3 separate regions of the Homo sapiens genome follow, and all the other regions are linked to region 1. Evidence: promoter capture Hi-C in 16 types of primary human blood cells and fetal thymus (Javierre and others, 2016). All regions are on one chromosome and are shown on one strand. Each heading gives the region's core, a stretch centred on a gene start or on the middle of the fragment in contact. The rest is flanking DNA. Distances are from core to core; before and after follow the strand shown. Region 1 holds the start of SRSF6 (serine and arginine rich splicing factor 6). Region 2 has its middle 79 kb from the start of CHD6. Region 3 overlaps STK4 (serine/threonine kinase 4).

Region 1 (2,952 bases), core at 138-2,637:
TTGTTCTTTCCTTCAGGCAGGTTGGAGTCTTGCTTTGTCACCCAGGCTGGAGTGCAGTGGCATGATCATAGCTCACTGCAGCCTCGAACACCTGGGCTCAAGAGATCCTCTTGCCTCAGCTTCCCAAGGTGTGGGGATTACAGACTCGTATTTTTTATTTATCTAACTTTAAGCACGGCCTCTACCTCCCCCAGTCGTGACAAACAACGTTTCCCTCTAGACTTCCAAATAGCTCCAGGAGGACAAAACCCCCCTTTTTCAACCCGAAGCTTAAGGATATTGAGGTTGCACCACTCAAAACAGAGCAGGAATACATAAATATCTAAAGAGCTGGTGTTATCTCAGTGATATCCCTTTTTTTTTTTTTTTTTTTTTTTAGCTTCGGCGGTGACACCTACTCTCCTGGTCTTCTCCCTACCTCGCTAGTCACTCCTCCCAGTCTCCTTTCCTGCGCTTAAATTTCAGAGTACCCCAGGCGTTGGCCTGGGTCTTCCGCTCTCCACTTAAACTTACTCCTTTGAGGTTTTCAATCTGGTTCTACAGCTTTAAATAGCATCTCCATTGATAAACTCACAAAATAAGGCACTTTCAAGTCAGTGGAGGAAATGATAGTATTGGGACAAAGGACTTTCCATACACGGGAGAAAAAAAATCGTTCGTCGCTGTGGGAGGGCTGCCGGGTCTCGTCCACGCTCCCTTTTGAGCACCTACAGTGAGCGTAGGATTGCCACGGATAGCCCAATCCACAAGTGAGTCAAGCTGCCAGGGCTCCAAGAAAGACCCATGGAGGGAGAGGGGAACGTCCGGGGAGGCGAAGGCTGCGAGTGAGACCCGGAGAGGCTGATGTCGGCGGGTCTGCGCGCTCGCAACGCGACCTCCGCCCGGTCAGCAAGACCTCGGCGCGCGATCCTCAGATTCTGCGAAACAAGACAAGCGACTGGGTCCGAGACCGCGGTCCCCATCAAAACGAGCATCAACCAATCGCTGGGAGAAATCCGCAGCCTCGTTTTAAGCCACCAAGCAGAGACCGCGGCGACCTATTATGATAACCTCGAGAACCAATGAAAAACGGGGATTCGCTCAGCCCGCCTCCCGAGCTTCAACCCCGAAGAGATCGCGCACAGTTTTATAAAAGGTACAAATTAGAAAGCAGTTCTGCGGCTGGATTAGAGACATTGTGTTTTCAAAGACGGTGGGGAGGGCTAGAGAAAAATCCTAGAAGCTAGCAAGACCGCACTACACCGAAACGTCGCGGGCAACGGACTCGCCAGTCACCATCTAGCCCAGGGACGACGCGGGACGGACGTGCCGCTGCGCGCTGACATCACGCTCCAGGCCCCGCCCCACCGGCCGCCCATATAGCGAAAGCCTGGCGCGCGCGCGCGCCATTGTGTGGCTGGACTCGGCCGCCCCTGTGGTGTGAGGCGCGTGTTCGGGCTCTTGCCGTCCCCGCACCCGCACCGCGGTTACTGGCTTGCGGTCCGCCGTTCGACAACCAGCCCTTGGGTCCCCGCCCGCCACGGACATGCCGCGCGTCTACATAGGACGCCTGAGCTACAACGTCCGGGAGAAGGACATCCAGCGCTTTTTCAGTGGCTATGGCCGCCTCCTCGAAGTAGACCTCAAAAATGGGTGAGTCGGGCCTGGGCGCCCGCGCCCAGCGTCCCAGGCCTGGTGGCGGCGGGAACTCTCCAAGGAAAGAAGCGGCCAAGGCCGCGGCGCCGCGTGGCAGGGCCTCAAAGATGGCGACGGCGCGGCGTCGCGGGGGCGCGCGGTGGGGTACGGGCGCGCGCACGTGCGCGTCCTGGCTAACGACTCCCCCGCGGTTGTCCGGCCCTCGCACCGCCCCTAGGTACGGCTTCGTGGAGTTCGAGGACTCCCGCGACGCCGACGACGCCGTTTACGAGCTGAACGGCAAGGAGCTCTGCGGCGAGCGCGTGATCGTAGAGCACGCCCGGGGCCCGCGTCGCGATCGCGACGGCTACAGCTACGGAAGCCGCAGTGAGTCCCACCCCCGCGCGCTCCGCGCCCTTGGGGACCCTGGGGGCGGGGGTGGGTGGGGTGGGGCCTCCCAGCCCGGGCAGGCGCGAGGGCCGGGGGTCGTTTGACTTGGGTGTCCCCGAGCCCCGCTGCCTTCACGTCTGCCCGGGGCAGCCATGGGACGCCGGAGCGCGGGGATTGGGTTTGGGTGTTTGGTTTTGTTTATTTGCCAAGTTGGGAGGTGGGTGGCTTCTTCTGGCCCCTTGTCAGCACTGTCACGGGTTCTTCCCACAGAGGAAGTAAGGGGTGGCTGTATTTGTTGTATTCTCCTTACTTACCTATCAGTGCATTAGTTAGAGGTTCGGGGGCAGGCTCGGGTGGAGGTGGGGTAGGGGGCGCGGGGGACGGGGAAGGGGAGGAGCATAAAGTATAGGTCTTAAAGCTATGGAACTTGATGGGGGCCAAAGAATGTACTATTTTTAAGTAATGTGGTATTGTACCACAAAGTAGATCTAAATAAGCTTTATGCTGTATTTGAACTAATTGGGGCATGTTATTGGGAGGAGGTTGGGGGGATTTTTGGTTATGTTAAATGTTTGATGTTTAAATTGTTGCATGTTGAATTCAAACTTTTTAACAAGTCCTTGATGTTTCAATTTGAAAGTGACCAATGGGGCTGAGGCTGTGTCCACTGAGGCTAAGATGACTGCCTTTCCTGATTGGCCTTGGCTTTTCCATACATTGTGTGACCCTTGCCCTATGACCCTTTGGCTGACCTTACCGGAAGCCATGACGACAGCAGCCTTTTGCCATTAGACGCAGGGTGATGGTGAGGATTCCAAGGGTTAGACAAAACTGGTTAATCTGAACTAGGTGACTGTTACCTTGCGTGTTTTGTGGCCAAACCACCACCAAAAACCTCACACTGTGATGTAAGTACTTAGTGTAAAACTAGTAAACATTTTTGTAAAA
Region 2 (2,952 bases), core at 303-2,802, 1.8 Mb before region 1:
AGTGGAAATTAGCATCCAAAAGGACGCAAGAAGAGATGAGTAAAAAATCTACACTTACCCATGAGCCAGATACTGTCTCATCCACTGTCTCATTTAATCTTTGTGACAATCATAGTTCTCAGTTTTTGCTGCTAAGAAAACTGGTGCCCAAAGGCTCTGCCTAAAGATTACCCAACTAGTAATGGAGAACCTCGGTAGGAAATTGGGTCTTTCTGATCTCAAAGGTTGAGCCCCTCAATATTCCTTCTGTTCTTTTTGCCCCATCTGGCACCCGTTACTAGCACAGAAGCCCGGAAAGTTTAAGAAACAACTTCTGTCTCTGGTGTGTCATTTGTACCTCTGAGGACATCAACTTGGAACAGCCATTGTACCAGAGTTCTGTCTTTTCCAGGAATCAGTGACTCATATCAGTCTCTGCTGATATCAGCTGCTGAAGGGCTTAGGAGAACTGGTAGGACTCAGAGGAGCAGAAAATCCAGGAAAGGGCACTCTTGGCCAGTGCTGTTTAATAGAACTCTTTCAGATGAGTAAAATGTTCCATATTTGTGCTTTCCAGTATGGGAATGTCTCAAGTTCCTTTTTAGACAGTATCTCCAGCCCCCTCATTGGTTCCTGACTTCAGGCTGTTTCCAAGACATTCAACTTGAGACTACAGATCCCTGGGCTAGGTCTTCAAGGGCCCTCCAGATCCAAGCTATGCCTCAGTTTTAGCTGAAGTTGTGTCCAAGAACACAGGTCAGGGTACAGGGAGATGGGATACGTATAGCTCCAGACATGGCCAGTGCATTGTTGATATTGCCACCCCAGCAAACTGCCTAGAACTTGGCCCAGAGCAGATGCTAGGTTAACATGGTAGATGAGTGAATTTACTTTCTCTTCCCCAGATTGGGGCTCCCTCACCTACTGCCATTGGCTTCTGGAATCCTTCTCTATCATTGTGAACTGATGACTTGCCACATGGTGAAGATTAACGAAGCCAGTGCTTTGAACCACCACCCTGACATTTTGGGGGTAGGTCAGGGGGGTAGCTACAAAACCAGCTAGTAATAATTCATTGAAAATATGCTGGATCCAGCATTTTTATGTAATGACCTCATTTTTCTTGTGAAACCCTGTGTGCAAAATGAAAGCCCAAATGAGCATCTGCTATATACAGTTAGGAGTAGGGTGGTGCTGGGGAAAGAGGACTGATCTAGGAGTTACCCTGGACCTGGGGCTCATAGGCTGTATGACCTTGAACAAGATGCTCAATGCTTCTGTGCCCCAGTTTTCTCTCAAGTAAAATAAAAACATTGGACTCTAAGCTTCTTTCTACAGTTAATGTGAATGTTTAAAAAATGGCTGGTCACATCTGTGATCAACCTACATTAAGCACCTTTCAAGTGATTACTTGCTTCAATTAGGTCCATTTTCATTGTTTACTTTTACTAACAGTTTTTTTTCTTAACCCTTCCACTTCCAGTGCCTTCCTCATTCTTCACTATTTTTTGATTGTTTCTTCAGATTCTGATAAATCATCTTCATTTCCAGCCATTGAATCACCTGCTCCTTGGCCCTGCCTAGAGGCTCTTTAATCCTCAGCAGTTTCAATTTCCTGACAAAGCACACAGAGGGGGCCCGGTCTCCCTCCTCTTCCCTTGCCCACTACTCACCACTCTCCCATCTAAAACACATCTGAAAAATCAGGGAGGTTTCTATTCTGGCAGTTGTCTCTCTCACCACTAGATGGCACATGCAGGTCATCAGTCTTTTGGGCAAAAACTAATTTTATTGTGTATTTAAACTCCATCTCAATCCACAAAAGCTTTGAGGGGAATTACAAAAGTACAAAATATACAAAAGGATAAGACAAAAAGTTGAGGTAGCTGGAGAAAATAGAAAACAAGTGGAAGAAATAACTCCAGGATGACATTAGCTCAAAAAGATCAACACCAGCAAAGGCTTACACATTTGGCTCCGAGCTTCCAAATGGCCAAAGTAAAGAGGGAAATGTGAGTGGTAATAAAATTCTAGATTTTATGTGAGAAAAACAAATATTTGGGAGAAGCTCAACTTTTCCTGACCCTGAGACCAAAGAGATATTTTTCCCGTGGGTCAGCTGACTGAACAGTGATGCAATACAGCGGTGACTTAATTGGAGCTGTTTCTTATAATGTCCTTTTATGCAGGCCTATGGCATGACGCTCAAGTATAATTGAGGAAAAGCAGTTCTACTGGGCTTAAAACATGAGTTTCCAGGACAGAGTAAATTCACTGTTTGTTGTGGGCCTCCGTAGTTTGAAACAGTGAAATCTGCACACCTCCCTGTTCCAGAGTTTAGGTGGAGTTTGGGGGAGAGGGGGTTCTTCTTGGAGACTGTGGTAAGCAGTTTCTAAGAGGGCCACCAATGATCCTGCCTCCTGGTTTTCAAACCCTATCTGGTCCCCTCCCATGTAGCAGCAGTAATGGTCTGTGTCACCAGCAGAATGCAGGAGAAGCAGGGCCGGGCATAGTGGCTTATGCCTATAATCCCAGCACTTTGGGAGGCCGAGGCAGGAGGATTGCTTGAGCCCAGGAATTAGAGACCAGCCTGGACAACAAAATGAGACCTCGTCTCTACAAAAAATACAAAAACTAGCCAGGCATGGTGGTGTGAGTCTGTAGTCCCAGATACTACGGAGGCTGAGGCGGGATAATTGCTTAAGCCCAGGAGGTTGAGGCTGCAGTGAGCTGTGTTCATGCCATTGCACTCCAGCCTGGGTGACAGAGCAAGACCCTGTCTCGAACAAACAAACAAAAACAAAAACACCCCACCAAAAACAGAATACAGGAGAAATTATGGTATGTCACTTCTCAGATCAGGTTAAAATACATCATAGCTTCTCTCTTGGTCTCTCTGTCTCTGGTTTTGTCTCTCTCTTTCTGTCATGCTAGGGAAAGCCAGGTGCCATGTCATTAGGAGTCTTGAGAGAC
Region 3 (2,952 bases), core at 266-2,765, 1.5 Mb after region 1:
GCTAAGCGACCCAGCCGATGGGGCACCTGCTGAGTGAGGGGGGGGACGTCTGGTGGGTGAGGGTCCGGCTGAGGGGAGCATCTGCTAAGGAGGTTAGACTTGGGACCGGTTAGAGGGAGCACTCGCTGTGGTGAGACTGTGCTGAGGAACGTGGGGACAAGTTAGGGAGAGTACCTGCTGAGGCCGGGCCACTCGGGGGAACGCTATCCAAGCAGGGACTCACGGAGGTGGGGGCGAATGCTGAAGCAGGGTGAGAATCTGTGAGGGATCTCTTTAAGGGGGTGGATCGAGAACTGGCCAAGAGGAAGGCCGGGTGGACTTTCTAAGGGTCTGAAGTCCCACTTGAGGGGTGCGGTGGGGGGATCTGTGGAGGGGAAAAGCTTTGCGCCTAAGGCTGAAAGCATGCGAGGAAAGGTTGAGGGTCTAGCAAGGGAGGGGATGGTGGAGGGTAGCATTTCAGAGGATGCTGTTGGTGGTGTCCCCACTGTAGGATGGCATCTTTTATTACTGATGTTCAGTGTCTTCCTAATGGTCTTCACATCCTCCTCAGCTCTTCAGAACCTGACATTGGGAGGTAGGTAAGGAAATAAGAGGATATTTTCGAGATGGGGAGACTGAGGTCCAGAGTAGTTGGGAAGTGTTTCCTTCTTTACTCCGGGTCACTGAACCCTGCCAGTCTGTGCCCTTTTCAGGCCTCAGTTGTTTTGTGAATATCAGCACCAAATCCTAGTGGTACCTGGAATTGCTTTAGTTCAAGATCAGGATGGTGGCTGATCCTAGAAAATCTCAACTCCTGGATTTCCCTTGTGGACATCCCGGGTCTTTTGCCACTCTACCACATCTGGAGAAAAGTAGGGACTAGAGACCGAAGGAGTCATGCTTCTCTGAGGTTCAGTGTGGTTACTTCTATTTCACAGAGACGTCTGACTTCCTGCAGCAGAATGAGCTCTAAAGAAGGAAGTGTTCAGGGTGTGGAAGTGCAGGGCAACCAAGAGGTGAAGAGAAGGGATTGACTGCCTGGGCAGCACTCTTAGGGGTTGTTTGAGCTTGGGGATGTTTGAGGTGCACAAACATTGCAGAAGGCAAATAGGTGGTTGGGATGGGCTTTGGATTCACCCTAGCGTAGTGTGCTGAGACTGTAATAGTAATGATTATTACACTCATATTGCACTTACCGGGTGCCAGGCACTGTTCTAAGTGCTTTCCATGTGTCCTGCTGAAGCATATGAAATTGCTGATATTTGACCATTTTTGAACCATAAAAACCTCATTTGAACTCATTTGAACCTCACAACAATCCTGTGTGGTAGATATCCCTATATGTCTGTTTTACAGATGATAAAACTGAGATACAGAGGGTAGTGATTTGCTGGGAGAAGTCATAGCAAGTAAGAGACAGAGCTAGGATTTTAATGTCTATGGGGTCTGGTCCAAAGTCCATGTTCTTTTTTTTTTTTTGAGACGGAGTCTCACTCTGTCGCCCAGTCTGAAGTGCAGTGGCGCAATCTCGGCTCACTGCTACTTCCGCCTTCTGGGTTCAAGCGATTCTCCTGCCTCAGCCTCCTGTGTAACTGGGACCACAGGTGCGTGCCACCACGCCTGGCTAATTTTTTGTAGTTTTAGTAGAGACGGGGTTTCACCGTGTTAGCCAGGATGGTCTCTATCTCCTGACCTCGTGATCCGCCCACCTTGGCTTCTCAAAGTGGTGGGATTACAGGCGTGAGCCACCGGGCCCGGCCATGCTCTTAACTGCCTCACTCTGATGCCTCTCTAAAAGTACCCCTGTTTCACAGGTCTCTGTGTATGTTAGCAGATATTTACTATAGTACCATAGTGATCCAATTATGAATGCACACTAGTTATGTTTCTTTCTGAACTATGTTCGTTCGTTCTTCTTGGTTTCTTTCTCCGAGGCCTTGGTTTAATTGAAAAGAGGATTAGGAATCTGAGTTTTGTTTCCCCCTTTGCCTTGTCTTACATAATCTTGAGCAAAGGACTAAAGTTTCTTGGCATGCTCATTCCTGTACCTTTTGGATTTTAAAAAATGTATTAAAAGCACAAGAGAAGAGCATTGCAGGACTGGGTTCTGAAGTGGCTGGTGATTCCCAGCTCATTGTAACTAGTAGATTGCCTAATTTGAAGCAGATCAATTTTATTATCACGTGTATCAGTTTATCAGGACAAGACAAAGTGTCATGGAGTGGGTGGTTTAAGCAACGTAAATTTATTCTCTCACTGTTCTGAAGGCTAGAGATCTGAAATCAAGGCATTGTCAGAGTTGTTTCTTTTGACGCCTTTGCTTGACTCGTAGATGGCCATCTCCCTGTGTCTCCATGTTCTTCCTTCTGTACCTGTCAGTGTCCTAATCTCCTCTTATAAGGACACCAGTCATACTGGATTAGGGCATGCCCATATGACCTCATTTTATCTTAATTACCTCTTTAAAGGCCTTGTCTCCAAATACAGTCACATTCTTAGGTGGTGGGTATTAGGACTTCAGCATATGAATTGGGGTAAGCTGGGGACACAGTTTTATTATGTAAGATTTTGTCCATTTATCATGTATAGTTGTTGTAATCCATATCAAATTCTGTGTGGAAAAAGAAATAGTTACACATAAAATGAACTTTATGGGAGTTCTGAAATGGGAGAAAGCTTTGAGAATTAGCCAGACCTGTAAGTGACTACTTCATAGACACCATTACTTGTGTTTGGAAAGATACAGGTGTCTTTTCAGAAATTCAGATGGCATGTGTTTCCAATAACCCCAGTGCAGGAAATGCCCTTTGTGTTCGTGAGTTTGACATTTGTGTGTGTGTGTGATTAAGTGATGACAGATTGGTGTCTCATATAGGAGTTAATAATTTTAAAAAATGAGTTGCCATTAGATTAATGTTATAGTGGAAGGCGTAGAGTGCATTCCTGGGATGCTGGCCATCCACATGGCCATCT

The links. Contacts are between HindIII fragments. The CHiCAGO score rates a contact against its expected background, and 5 or more counts as called.
Region 2: a fragment that was not itself captured here is called in contact with the fragment with the promoter of SRSF6 in region 1 in 2 of 17 cell types (erythroblasts and M0 macrophages); the score reaches 6.6 in erythroblasts.
Region 3: a contact is called between a fragment that was not itself captured here and the fragment with the promoter of SRSF6 in region 1, in 1 of 17 cell types (fetal thymus). The highest score is 6.0, in fetal thymus.

Annotation. Positions count from the first base shown.
Region 1 is chr20:43,456,509-43,459,460 of GRCh38, forward strand. SRSF6 (serine and arginine rich splicing factor 6) reads left to right here and starts at 1,388. Exons shown (of 6, transcript NM_006275.6): 1 at 1,388-1,632; 2 at 1,853-2,001. The coding sequence starts at 1,526. RefSeq lists enhancers at 725-1,044, 1,105-1,264, 1,186-2,133, 1,565-1,664 and silencers at 1,805-1,904, 1,915-2,174. The HindIII fragment of the contact is 2,232 bases long and covers 268-2,499 here.
Region 2 is chr20:41,696,253-41,699,204 of GRCh38, forward strand. No RefSeq gene overlaps it. Among named protein-coding and RNA genes, the nearest start is that of CHD6, 79 kb to the left of the region's middle. The HindIII fragment of the contact is 500 bases long and covers 1,303-1,802 here.
Region 3 is chr20:44,966,698-44,969,649 of GRCh38, forward strand. All of the region lies in intron 1 of STK4 (serine/threonine kinase 4), which reads left to right. Among named protein-coding and RNA genes, the nearest start is that of STK4, 1.7 kb to the left of the region's middle. RefSeq lists an enhancer at 1,030-1,109 and a silencer at 1,570-1,699. The HindIII fragment of the contact is 2,275 bases long and covers 379-2,653 here.